Regions from separate parts of the Homo sapiens genome. Here all the other regions are linked to region 1. The links are contacts of gene promoters, found by promoter capture Hi-C in blood cells and fetal thymus (Javierre and others, 2016). All regions are on one chromosome and are shown on one strand. The core of a region is centred on a gene start or on the middle of the fragment in contact, and the rest is flanking DNA. Distances in the headings are between cores, read along the strand shown. Region 1 holds the start of LINC02453 (long intergenic non-protein coding RNA 2453). Region 2 overlaps APAF1 (apoptotic peptidase activating factor 1). Region 3 has its middle 93 kb from the start of APAF1.

The links. Contacts are between HindIII fragments. The CHiCAGO score rates a contact against its expected background, and 5 or more counts as called.
Region 2: a fragment that was not itself captured here is called in contact with the fragment with the promoter of LINC02453 in region 1 in 5 of 17 cell types (neutrophils, naive CD8 T cells, total B cells and 2 more); the score reaches 8.7 in neutrophils.
Region 3: a contact is called between a fragment that was not itself captured here and the fragment with the promoter of LINC02453 in region 1, in 1 of 17 cell types (neutrophils). The highest score is 10.5, in neutrophils.

Annotation. Positions count from the first base shown.
Region 1 is chr12:98,502,536-98,505,248 of GRCh38, reverse strand. It overlaps LINC02453 (long intergenic non-protein coding RNA 2453), which reads left to right and starts at 1,394. Exons shown (of 4, transcript NR_038383.1): 1 at 1,394-1,489; 2 at 2,637-2,666. TRD-GTC1-1 (tRNA-Asp (anticodon GTC) 1-1) reads right to left here and starts at 1,746; the gene lies at 1,675-1,746. It overlaps TRW-CCA4-1 (tRNA-Trp (anticodon CCA) 4-1), which reads right to left and starts at 997; the gene lies at 926-997. RefSeq lists enhancers at 1,037-1,336, 1,347-1,656. The HindIII fragment of the contact is 12,452 bases long and covers 1-2,713 here.
Region 2 is chr12:98,703,857-98,706,556 of GRCh38, reverse strand. It overlaps APAF1 (apoptotic peptidase activating factor 1), which reads right to left. Exons shown (of 27, transcript NM_181861.2): 19 at 1-72. Among named protein-coding and RNA genes, the nearest start is that of APAF1, 60 kb to the right of the region's middle. The HindIII fragment of the contact is 4,085 bases long and covers 1-2,700 here.
Region 3 is chr12:98,737,333-98,740,119 of GRCh38, reverse strand. It overlaps a transcript of ANKS1B not described here. Among named protein-coding and RNA genes, the nearest start is that of APAF1, 93 kb to the right of the region's middle. The HindIII fragment of the contact is 5,081 bases long and covers 1-2,787 here.

The sequences.
Region 1 (2,713 bases), core at 145-2,644:
AGGCGCCCAGTCCAACAGCTTTTCCCACATTCCTCCCCGCCACCCACCTCCAGAAGGAGTCTTGCTTGGTCACCCAGGCTCACTGCAACCTCCGCCTCCCGGGTTCAATCAATTCTTCTGCCTCAGCCTCCGGAGTAGCTGGGATTACAGGTGCACCCCACCATGCCCAGCTAATTTTTGTATTTTCAGTAGAAATGGGGTTTCACCATGTTGGTCAGGCTGGTCTTGAACTCCTGACCTCGTGATCCACCCACTTTGGCCTTCCAAAGTGCTAGGATTACAGGTGTAAGCCACTGAGCCTGGCAGTCACACATTCTTTCAACTGTTTGTTTCCACCTTTATTATAAAGTATTTATAAAGAGGGATCCAGAGTCCCTCACCTGGTTCAGAATCTTGGGTGACCCTTGGCAGGTCACTAACCCTGTGAGCCACAGCCACATTTGTAAAAGTGGGATAATAGTCACACATTGTGAGGTTGTTCACAGTGTTGGCACATGGTAAGGGCTAAGACACTTGATTAGCATAATATTCAAAATTAGAAATTGTACACTATTGTACTCTCTTTCAAAAGGCAAACAGCCTAAAACTGTTTGGAAAAAACAGCTTGTACAGTATATTGTACACTTCCTGTGATAGACTAGTGGACTGATACACCCACTAATGCACAGCAGTAATAGTCCACCTCTTTACACATTATGCATGTTAAGTGACAAAAAAACTCACTTTAAAAGGCCAAATGATAAAAACATCAGCCTTGAGGCTCTTCGATATAGAGTAAATCATATCTTCCTGCAAACCAAGGATTAGTATCATAATACCTGAAAGAGGAAAACTTAATTCTAACATTCAAGAAAATTGGCGGCAGGAATACACCTCGGCTTCTAGTAGTCGGTAGTTTAAAATACAGGAGGAAAAAAAAAAAGTTTGACCCCGACGTGATTCGAACACGCAGCCTTCTGATCTGGAGTCAGACGCGCTACCGTTGCGCCACGAGGTCCTGCTGGGCTGTGGCTCGCGCAGTTTCTTAGGACACCAGTAAATGGCGTTTCTTCCAGGGGTACCAGTCTTTCTCTTCCATTTACTCTCTGCCCCTCCACCCAGTATCTGTCGGACCAGGAGACCGATTCCTTCAGCGTCCAAACTTTCCTGACTGCTAGTCCTCTAACCAAGGCTGGGACGTAACCAGCGGAAGCGGGAGAACGGGGCTTCCCGTTTAGTCGGGTCTCCAGGATCAAAGGAAATTGGCCCTTCCTTTTCTTTACCAAATGATTTCCGTTCTTACCCGCCCTGCCCCCGCCCCGTTAGTCGCGAGACTCCGCCCTCTCTCCCCTCCCCCAACAGGTTCCGCGCGCTGAGTTCGCGACCTCGAGTTGTAATCTGGCGGGGCGCCACTAAGCCGGCGCAGGCCTTCGCAAGATGGCGGCTGGAGGCAAGGGCAGAGGCCTTCAGAGCGTTTTCTTTTTCCCTTTCCTCCCTTCCTGCAAACAATGTAAGGCATTTTCTCTCAGGGGAGGCTTTCACTTCATGGTGGGCATTAAGGTTAAAAGTCACCATTTTGAAGACAGGGTTGTGCACTTAAGGGAGCTGGTTTAGCATATTATGTTTAACAGCAGTGTCCTGTCATTGAATGATACAGAAAATAATAACTGTCGCCAAAAAAGTGCAGCTACACACCTCCCCGTCGGGGAATTGAACCCCGGTCTCCCGCGTGACAGGCGGGGATACTAACCACTATACTAACGAGGAGTCGTTAGGCTGTGTATTTTCTCAGACAGCCCTTCAAGGAGCAGTAAGATCCTTCCAGCGCTCCGTAACCTTCCGCCTGCCCCCGGGAAGTACGAAAGTCCGGTCTCTTGGAGCCGCTGCTTAGGCTTATTGTCCTCTCTGGGCGCTTTGTATTCTTGATGTTGGTGGGAAGAATAAAAGGTGTGGAATATGTGAAGGAAACGCGCTTCCCATGTTAGTGCTAGAGAAGTGTGTGAAAATAGTTTTTCCGAGGCTCTTGACGCGTTCTAAATGATTTAGGTTGCCGTCCTGAGTTTTTTTTTTTTAACTGACCACTGGTATGTGACTTGCGGCTGAGCCTTCCCCTTACAAATTTATACTTTCACTCTGAAGTTCAAGTTCAAGGATAGCATATGGCTGCCAGATGTCGGGGACAGTTAGGGTTGCCACGGTCTCGTGCCTCTTCAAACAATTCATAAGTCTTTTTTTTTTGAGAGGAAGTCTCGCTCTGTCCCCTAGGCTGGAGTGCAGTGTTGCGATCTGGGCTCACTACAACCTCCACCTCCAAGGCTCAAGTGATTCTCCCGCCTCAGCCTCTCGAGTGGCTGGGATTACAGGCGCGCACCACCATGCCTGGCTAATTTTTGTATTTTACTAGAGACGCGGGGTGTGTGTGTGTGTGTGGGGGGGGGGAGGGTTCACCATGTTGGCCAGACTGGTCTCGAACTCGTGACCTTTAGTGATCCACCTGCCTCGGCCTCCCAAAGTGCTGGGATTTACAGGCGTGAGCCACCGCGCCCGGCCAATTCACACACTTTTGTAACACAAAAGCGCCCAATGAAATGACCAGCTGCGGGCAAATGAAATTTTATCAAAATTTTATCAGCCGACTTCTGTTTCGCTCTCTGTAGGTGGCTACAGTTTAACTGGAAGTGACAAACGTAAGTATGTGAATGGCTAAATAATAATGCGTTTAAATAATTCAAAA
Region 2 (2,700 bases), core at 154-2,653, 200 kb before region 1:
CATCACACCATGAACCCAACTTAAATGTCCTCTGCAATCAGCCACCTTTGAACGTGAGTCTGTATTCCACAACTACAGAATAAACACAGCATATAGGAAATCACATACATAAGCATTTTGAAGAGAGCAAAAATATTGAAAATAGCAAGAATGAGCCAGCAATACCACTTCAATGAATATTGCTCAGAAACACACTATCAAAACTACAAAATGTCTTATGCAGAAGATTATTTAGTGCATCATTATTTTTTATAGCAAAATACTAGGAAACTAAATACTCATCAATAGGGAACCAACTGAATAAACTACATTAATCACATAATGGAATATCATGCAGCCATTAAAAACAATGAGAAAAACACCTTGATGACGACAAATCTCTAGGATATATTGTTAACAGAAAAAAAGCAAAGTGTAGAAGAGTCTATATACTATACACTACTATCTTTTATATGAGATGGAAAAATATGTACAAGAACATATAGAAGGATACAGGTATGGATATATATGCATATAGATATCTGCTTATATATGCAAGAAATATTGGACAGTTAAGCCAAAAACAGAAAATAGTTTACATATGCAGGGAAGGAGGGAGAGCGAGGCGAAGGGATAGGGATGAAAGCAAGACTTCTCTGAATATAACGCATTATAAAACTTTGACTTTGGAATCATGCAAATATTTTATCACTTTAAAAAAGTCAATCCAAAAAATAATAGGATGAACAAAAGCAGCTTCCATATTCAGATTATTTTCCACTAATACTGTCATCTAACCTTCATTTCAACTGACTGTAAAACCTACAATAAATTAACACAATAATTGTAACATGTACACATTTCTCTTGTTATTCATGCTTATTACCATGTCTACCAGCAGCCTGGTATTTTATCCTGGGTTCTGCTGTAAATTACTCTAATATATTCAAGTCTAATGAAGTACCATATGTGACTGAGTTCCTCTCATTACACTTTAAATTACAGAACTACTTTATCATTTCAGAACTAGCATGGACAAAACAAGTACCTCATCATAGGCCCAGTGACTGGTTTTCATTCAGTGAGTTCTGTGGTTATGAACTAATTATATGAAATTTTCTCCGCCTTATCTCTAAGAGTCCAAGCTGGGACATACAGAGCTAAGGGCCAAAAATGAAAGTGGTTCCACAACTGAAAATCTCTCCTAAGAAACTGAAAATCTCCCTTGAGAATCCTCCCCTCTCTTCCCACTTTCTTCTCCCCATCTCTCTCCCATCATTTCTTTGTCACTCAGAGCCTCCAGAGCTGAGTCCCTACATTTCAAGAAGGAAGATACTCTTTCATTGTTTCCTGGAGATTGCTAAGGATGGCAGAGGGTAAGGACTTTAGAAGTGACAAGAAAGGCTGAAAGAGGGGTTGCTACTTAGTACTGTTTCTAAAAATCCTAACAAACGCTCCACATTTACTTTGAGGATCTACACATAAGGTTCAAGATCTCCTAGGAGATCTAAAACCCAATAAACCCCAGCACTTTGGGAGGCTGAGGCAGGTGGATCACTTGAGGTCAGGAATTCGAGACCACCCTGGCCAACATGGTGAAACCCTATCTCCATGAAAAATACAAAAAAAAATTAGCCGGGCATGCTGGTGGGCACCTGTAATCCCAGCTACTCAGAAAGCTAAGGCAAGAGAATAGCTTGAACCCGGGAGGTGGAGGTTGCAGTGAGCTGAGATTACAACACTACACTGCAGCCTGGGTGACAGAGAGAGACTCTGTCTCAAAAACAAAGTAACACAAAACAAAACACTTCCAATTCAAAGTCTCTGCCCAACAAAACACTGCCCACAGCACCCTACTTCTTCCCGCTGTTTCATACAGGACTAGAGCTTTTTCACACTCCCTGCCTCTGTGTGCAATGGGAAGAGTCTCAGTAGGGAAGTTCTTCAGTGTCACATGCACTGCTGCACCTAGAATTAGGAGAAGCCTATGGATCTCATGCCCTCACTCTCACCTGTGCCTCTATGTTGAAGGGCTATAGCTTAGCAACTCTCCCCCAACACCTTCACAGTAATGGGCAAGGCTGGCAAACTCACTAAAATTTGCTAAATAAGCAGAGAACACTGAAGAAGTGCTTGCAGTAGTCATGGCTCCCTTGATGAGGAGCCTGTGAACCCAGTGAATTTCTCTATTTTCCAAAAGGCCCATACCCATCTTCTTGGAACTGTGATCTGAAGGGGTTTCAAACTACCTGGTGGTAAAACCAACCTAAGGAATGAAGACTAAGAAAGCCTGGAAAAACTAATCTATCTTTGGCCAGGCAAGGTGATACACCTGTAATCCCAGCATTTTGGGAGGCCAAGGCTGGGGGAGTATTGCTTGAGGCCAAGAGTTCAAGACCAGCCTGGGCAACACAGTGAGACCCCCATTTCTATTAAAAAACAAAAAAAAAAAGCACTAATCCATCTTTGAAGGAAAAAAATAATTCACTACTTTATGAAAAAACTAATATAGCACTTCACTGGGTGGAATTCTTCCAGGGCCAGCTAGGTATACATTCTGAACATAAAATTTAACAGGTAAGTACAAAATCATAAAAAAGTAATTTATATGAGTTATTTTATTCATTAGTGCCTGGCAATGAACATCCTATCTTATCCTACTCAATGATCTAAGAAATCTGAACTGGACTCATTTCTCACCACCTTTTTTAAGAAGAAAAG
Region 3 (2,787 bases), core at 98-2,597, 230 kb before region 1:
AGCTACTGGCCCCAGCAACAAGCCCAGGGTCTTTTCTCCCCTCATTCCCAGTCTTCTTTACCACTTGATGGGTGTATGCGTCGCCCAAAGAGAATCAAGTTCGGGATAGTTCAAAAGAAAGCAGGTGACAGCTTTCCTGCTAAGTAAGCAATGTCTGTCTCCTAAAAGCCAATGGCCATAAGGAGAAGGAGGTGGTAGAGGAGGGTGCCTGGAGCTAGGTGTCTGCCATGGAGCAGAAGCAGCAGGGTCGCAATTTGTGAATCATGGAGATTTGGGCAGTACAGGAATGGGGGTTTGTAACTGGGACGAAAGATAAGTATTATGCTGTTTATTGAGATCTATATCAGATTCTTGACATGTTTTTTCTAAGCCCCACAAAAGCCTTGTACATTAGGTTCCCTATTTGACAAATCAGGAAAGTGAGGCTCTGAGGGGCTGCATCTTTTTTCAAATGAAAGGAAAAGGAGAAGGGGGGAGATGCAATCAAGATGGCAGAAGACAGCACACAGATCCACTAACCAAGGCCTGCCACTAATTTGAAATGAATCCCTTAAGAGTTTCAAAGTAGAAACAGGCTTCCCCAAAGGGAAGGCAACAGTAGCTCTGCTACCTTCCTTGCTCAATACCTGAATCATCTGAGAATTGAGAGCAGGTTGGGCAGTGGCCAGGTGCTGGCAAATCCAACGCATTCCCCCCACCTGTCCCATCCATTGGCTTCTATCAGAATGTTCCTGCTGCTTTTTTCAAAGAGCAATCTCTACAGGCACAGATACAAGTTAAGCAGACTACCAAAAGTAGAAGCTCCTTGGGAGCAGACAGCATCTGATGCCTTCTCCGAGAGCTTAGTAGTGATGCATCTGTCCTGATGCAAGTGAGTAACGAATGAAATGCAGAACTGAAGTGATGCTCTTGGACCCTCTAGCCCAGGGGCTTCAATGAGAAGGTACAGGGAGTGTCACCCAGTGGAGACAGAAGGCCGTGGACCAGAAACCCAGCTCCACCACTTGGCTGTGGGGCCCTGGAAACCTAACCTCTCTGCATCTGTTTGCACACCTATGAAAGAGATAACACCTTGCAGCACTGTTATGATTCAGTTAAATAACGTATGGAAAATGCCCAGCCTGTGGGCTTGGCACATAAAAGGCCCTCAAAAAATAGTAGCTCCCTTCCTTCCTTCTAAAAGACTTGGTGTGTCTCCAGAGGTTAATTGACAGCAAGTAGGGCAATAAGCCCAAGATGAAGGGCTTAGTGAAGGGCTCACTGCTAATTGAAGGTGAATATAAGAACATCTCCAAAACCATCACGTAAGCTATTGGATGACTTTCCCCAGCTAGTGAAACCAAGCCTTATGACCCCTAGGCTGATGTCATCTGCCACTGAACCCAGGAGTATTCTACTTCCAGTTGTGACTGACAGGTGACTTACAAGCCTAAGAGTCTTGGCCTTTCTATCTATAAAGAATAGCAGATTTGGATTCTAGCCCTGGCTTTGTCACCGATTAGCTGCTGGGGTTTAGTTCTTCCTCTATCTAAAAACTGAAGCTGCAGTCTGCAGATCCACTCAACTTCTGTGAAGATAAATGAGAGTTGGGCAGTGCCTCGAGTGGAGCGGCGATAAACATTTGAATGAATGCGAACGTGTGCTCCTCAGAACAGCAGGAGTCTCCACTCACCTGCTCAGTTTTCCAGTTTGATCGGTTGCTCTGAACCCCCAGACCCAAACTCAGGCCTCGACCACCCTCTCTAGTTACATATTCTAGCCCTGGGTGATGGAAATTACAGAGGCAGATTTTTCTATTCATTTCTATGTGATAAGGAGCATTCCCAGTTCTGGGGGCCTGACCTCATAAATGAATTTACAAAGAACACCAGTGACTCATTTTCCTGAATCTTAATTGAAATGAAAATTTCCCAAATTCTGGTTTTCTCACATCATTTGACTCAGGAGCAAGTCATTGTTGATGCCAGAGGACTTCAAAGGCCTGGTCTCTGCTACGTCTCAAATGTGACCCCCTTCTTCTGCCCCTCTCGTGTGAGCATATACAGTAATTCTTCTATAGTTAAACTCATAGCCCAAGAGCAGCAGATTTTCTAATTCAGGCATTTTAATAACTGTATAGTATATCCACGGTCCCAAGGGGAGTGGTTATGAGCAAGGAATGTATTCCAGTGACAATCTTCAAAGACTAAGAATTATTAGAAAATCATTTTCTCCTTCGTTAAAGTTCAGTGAGTAAATTATAATATAAAATGTCTGTGGAATAATAGATGGCCATACTTGCTGACTTAAACACTCCAGGGATATGTTTATTCATTTTATATAATTTGGTAGCAAACCTCTTTTGTCCAAGTAAAGTTTTACTTTCCCCTAATGATGTTTCACAGAAAAAGGCCAAACTAAAACGGCAAGATAAAATGCTGGTGATATGCTACATCTTCATTTGACAGCCTCATGATATCCTTATGGAAAGGAAGAACATAGACTGTGTTATGAACACGTGGGCAAATTCATCCCATGGAACTCAGGAGATGAATTCCAGTCATCCAACAAGTGTTTACTGAGGCCCTCATTGCAATGCTAGGCTCATGTTAGACTCTATACAGTCCTGGCTTTCAAGGAGCTTACGATTTACTGGGGACCTCAATAAGCAAGCAATTCCAAAACAACAAAAGCCATGACAGAGAAAAGAGAATGCTAGGAGAGGGCAGGGCAGCCCTTCAGCTCTTGAGGGTCATCTTAAAGAATTTGTGAAACATAGGGAGTTAGCGGGGAAAAGAAAATCGGTGA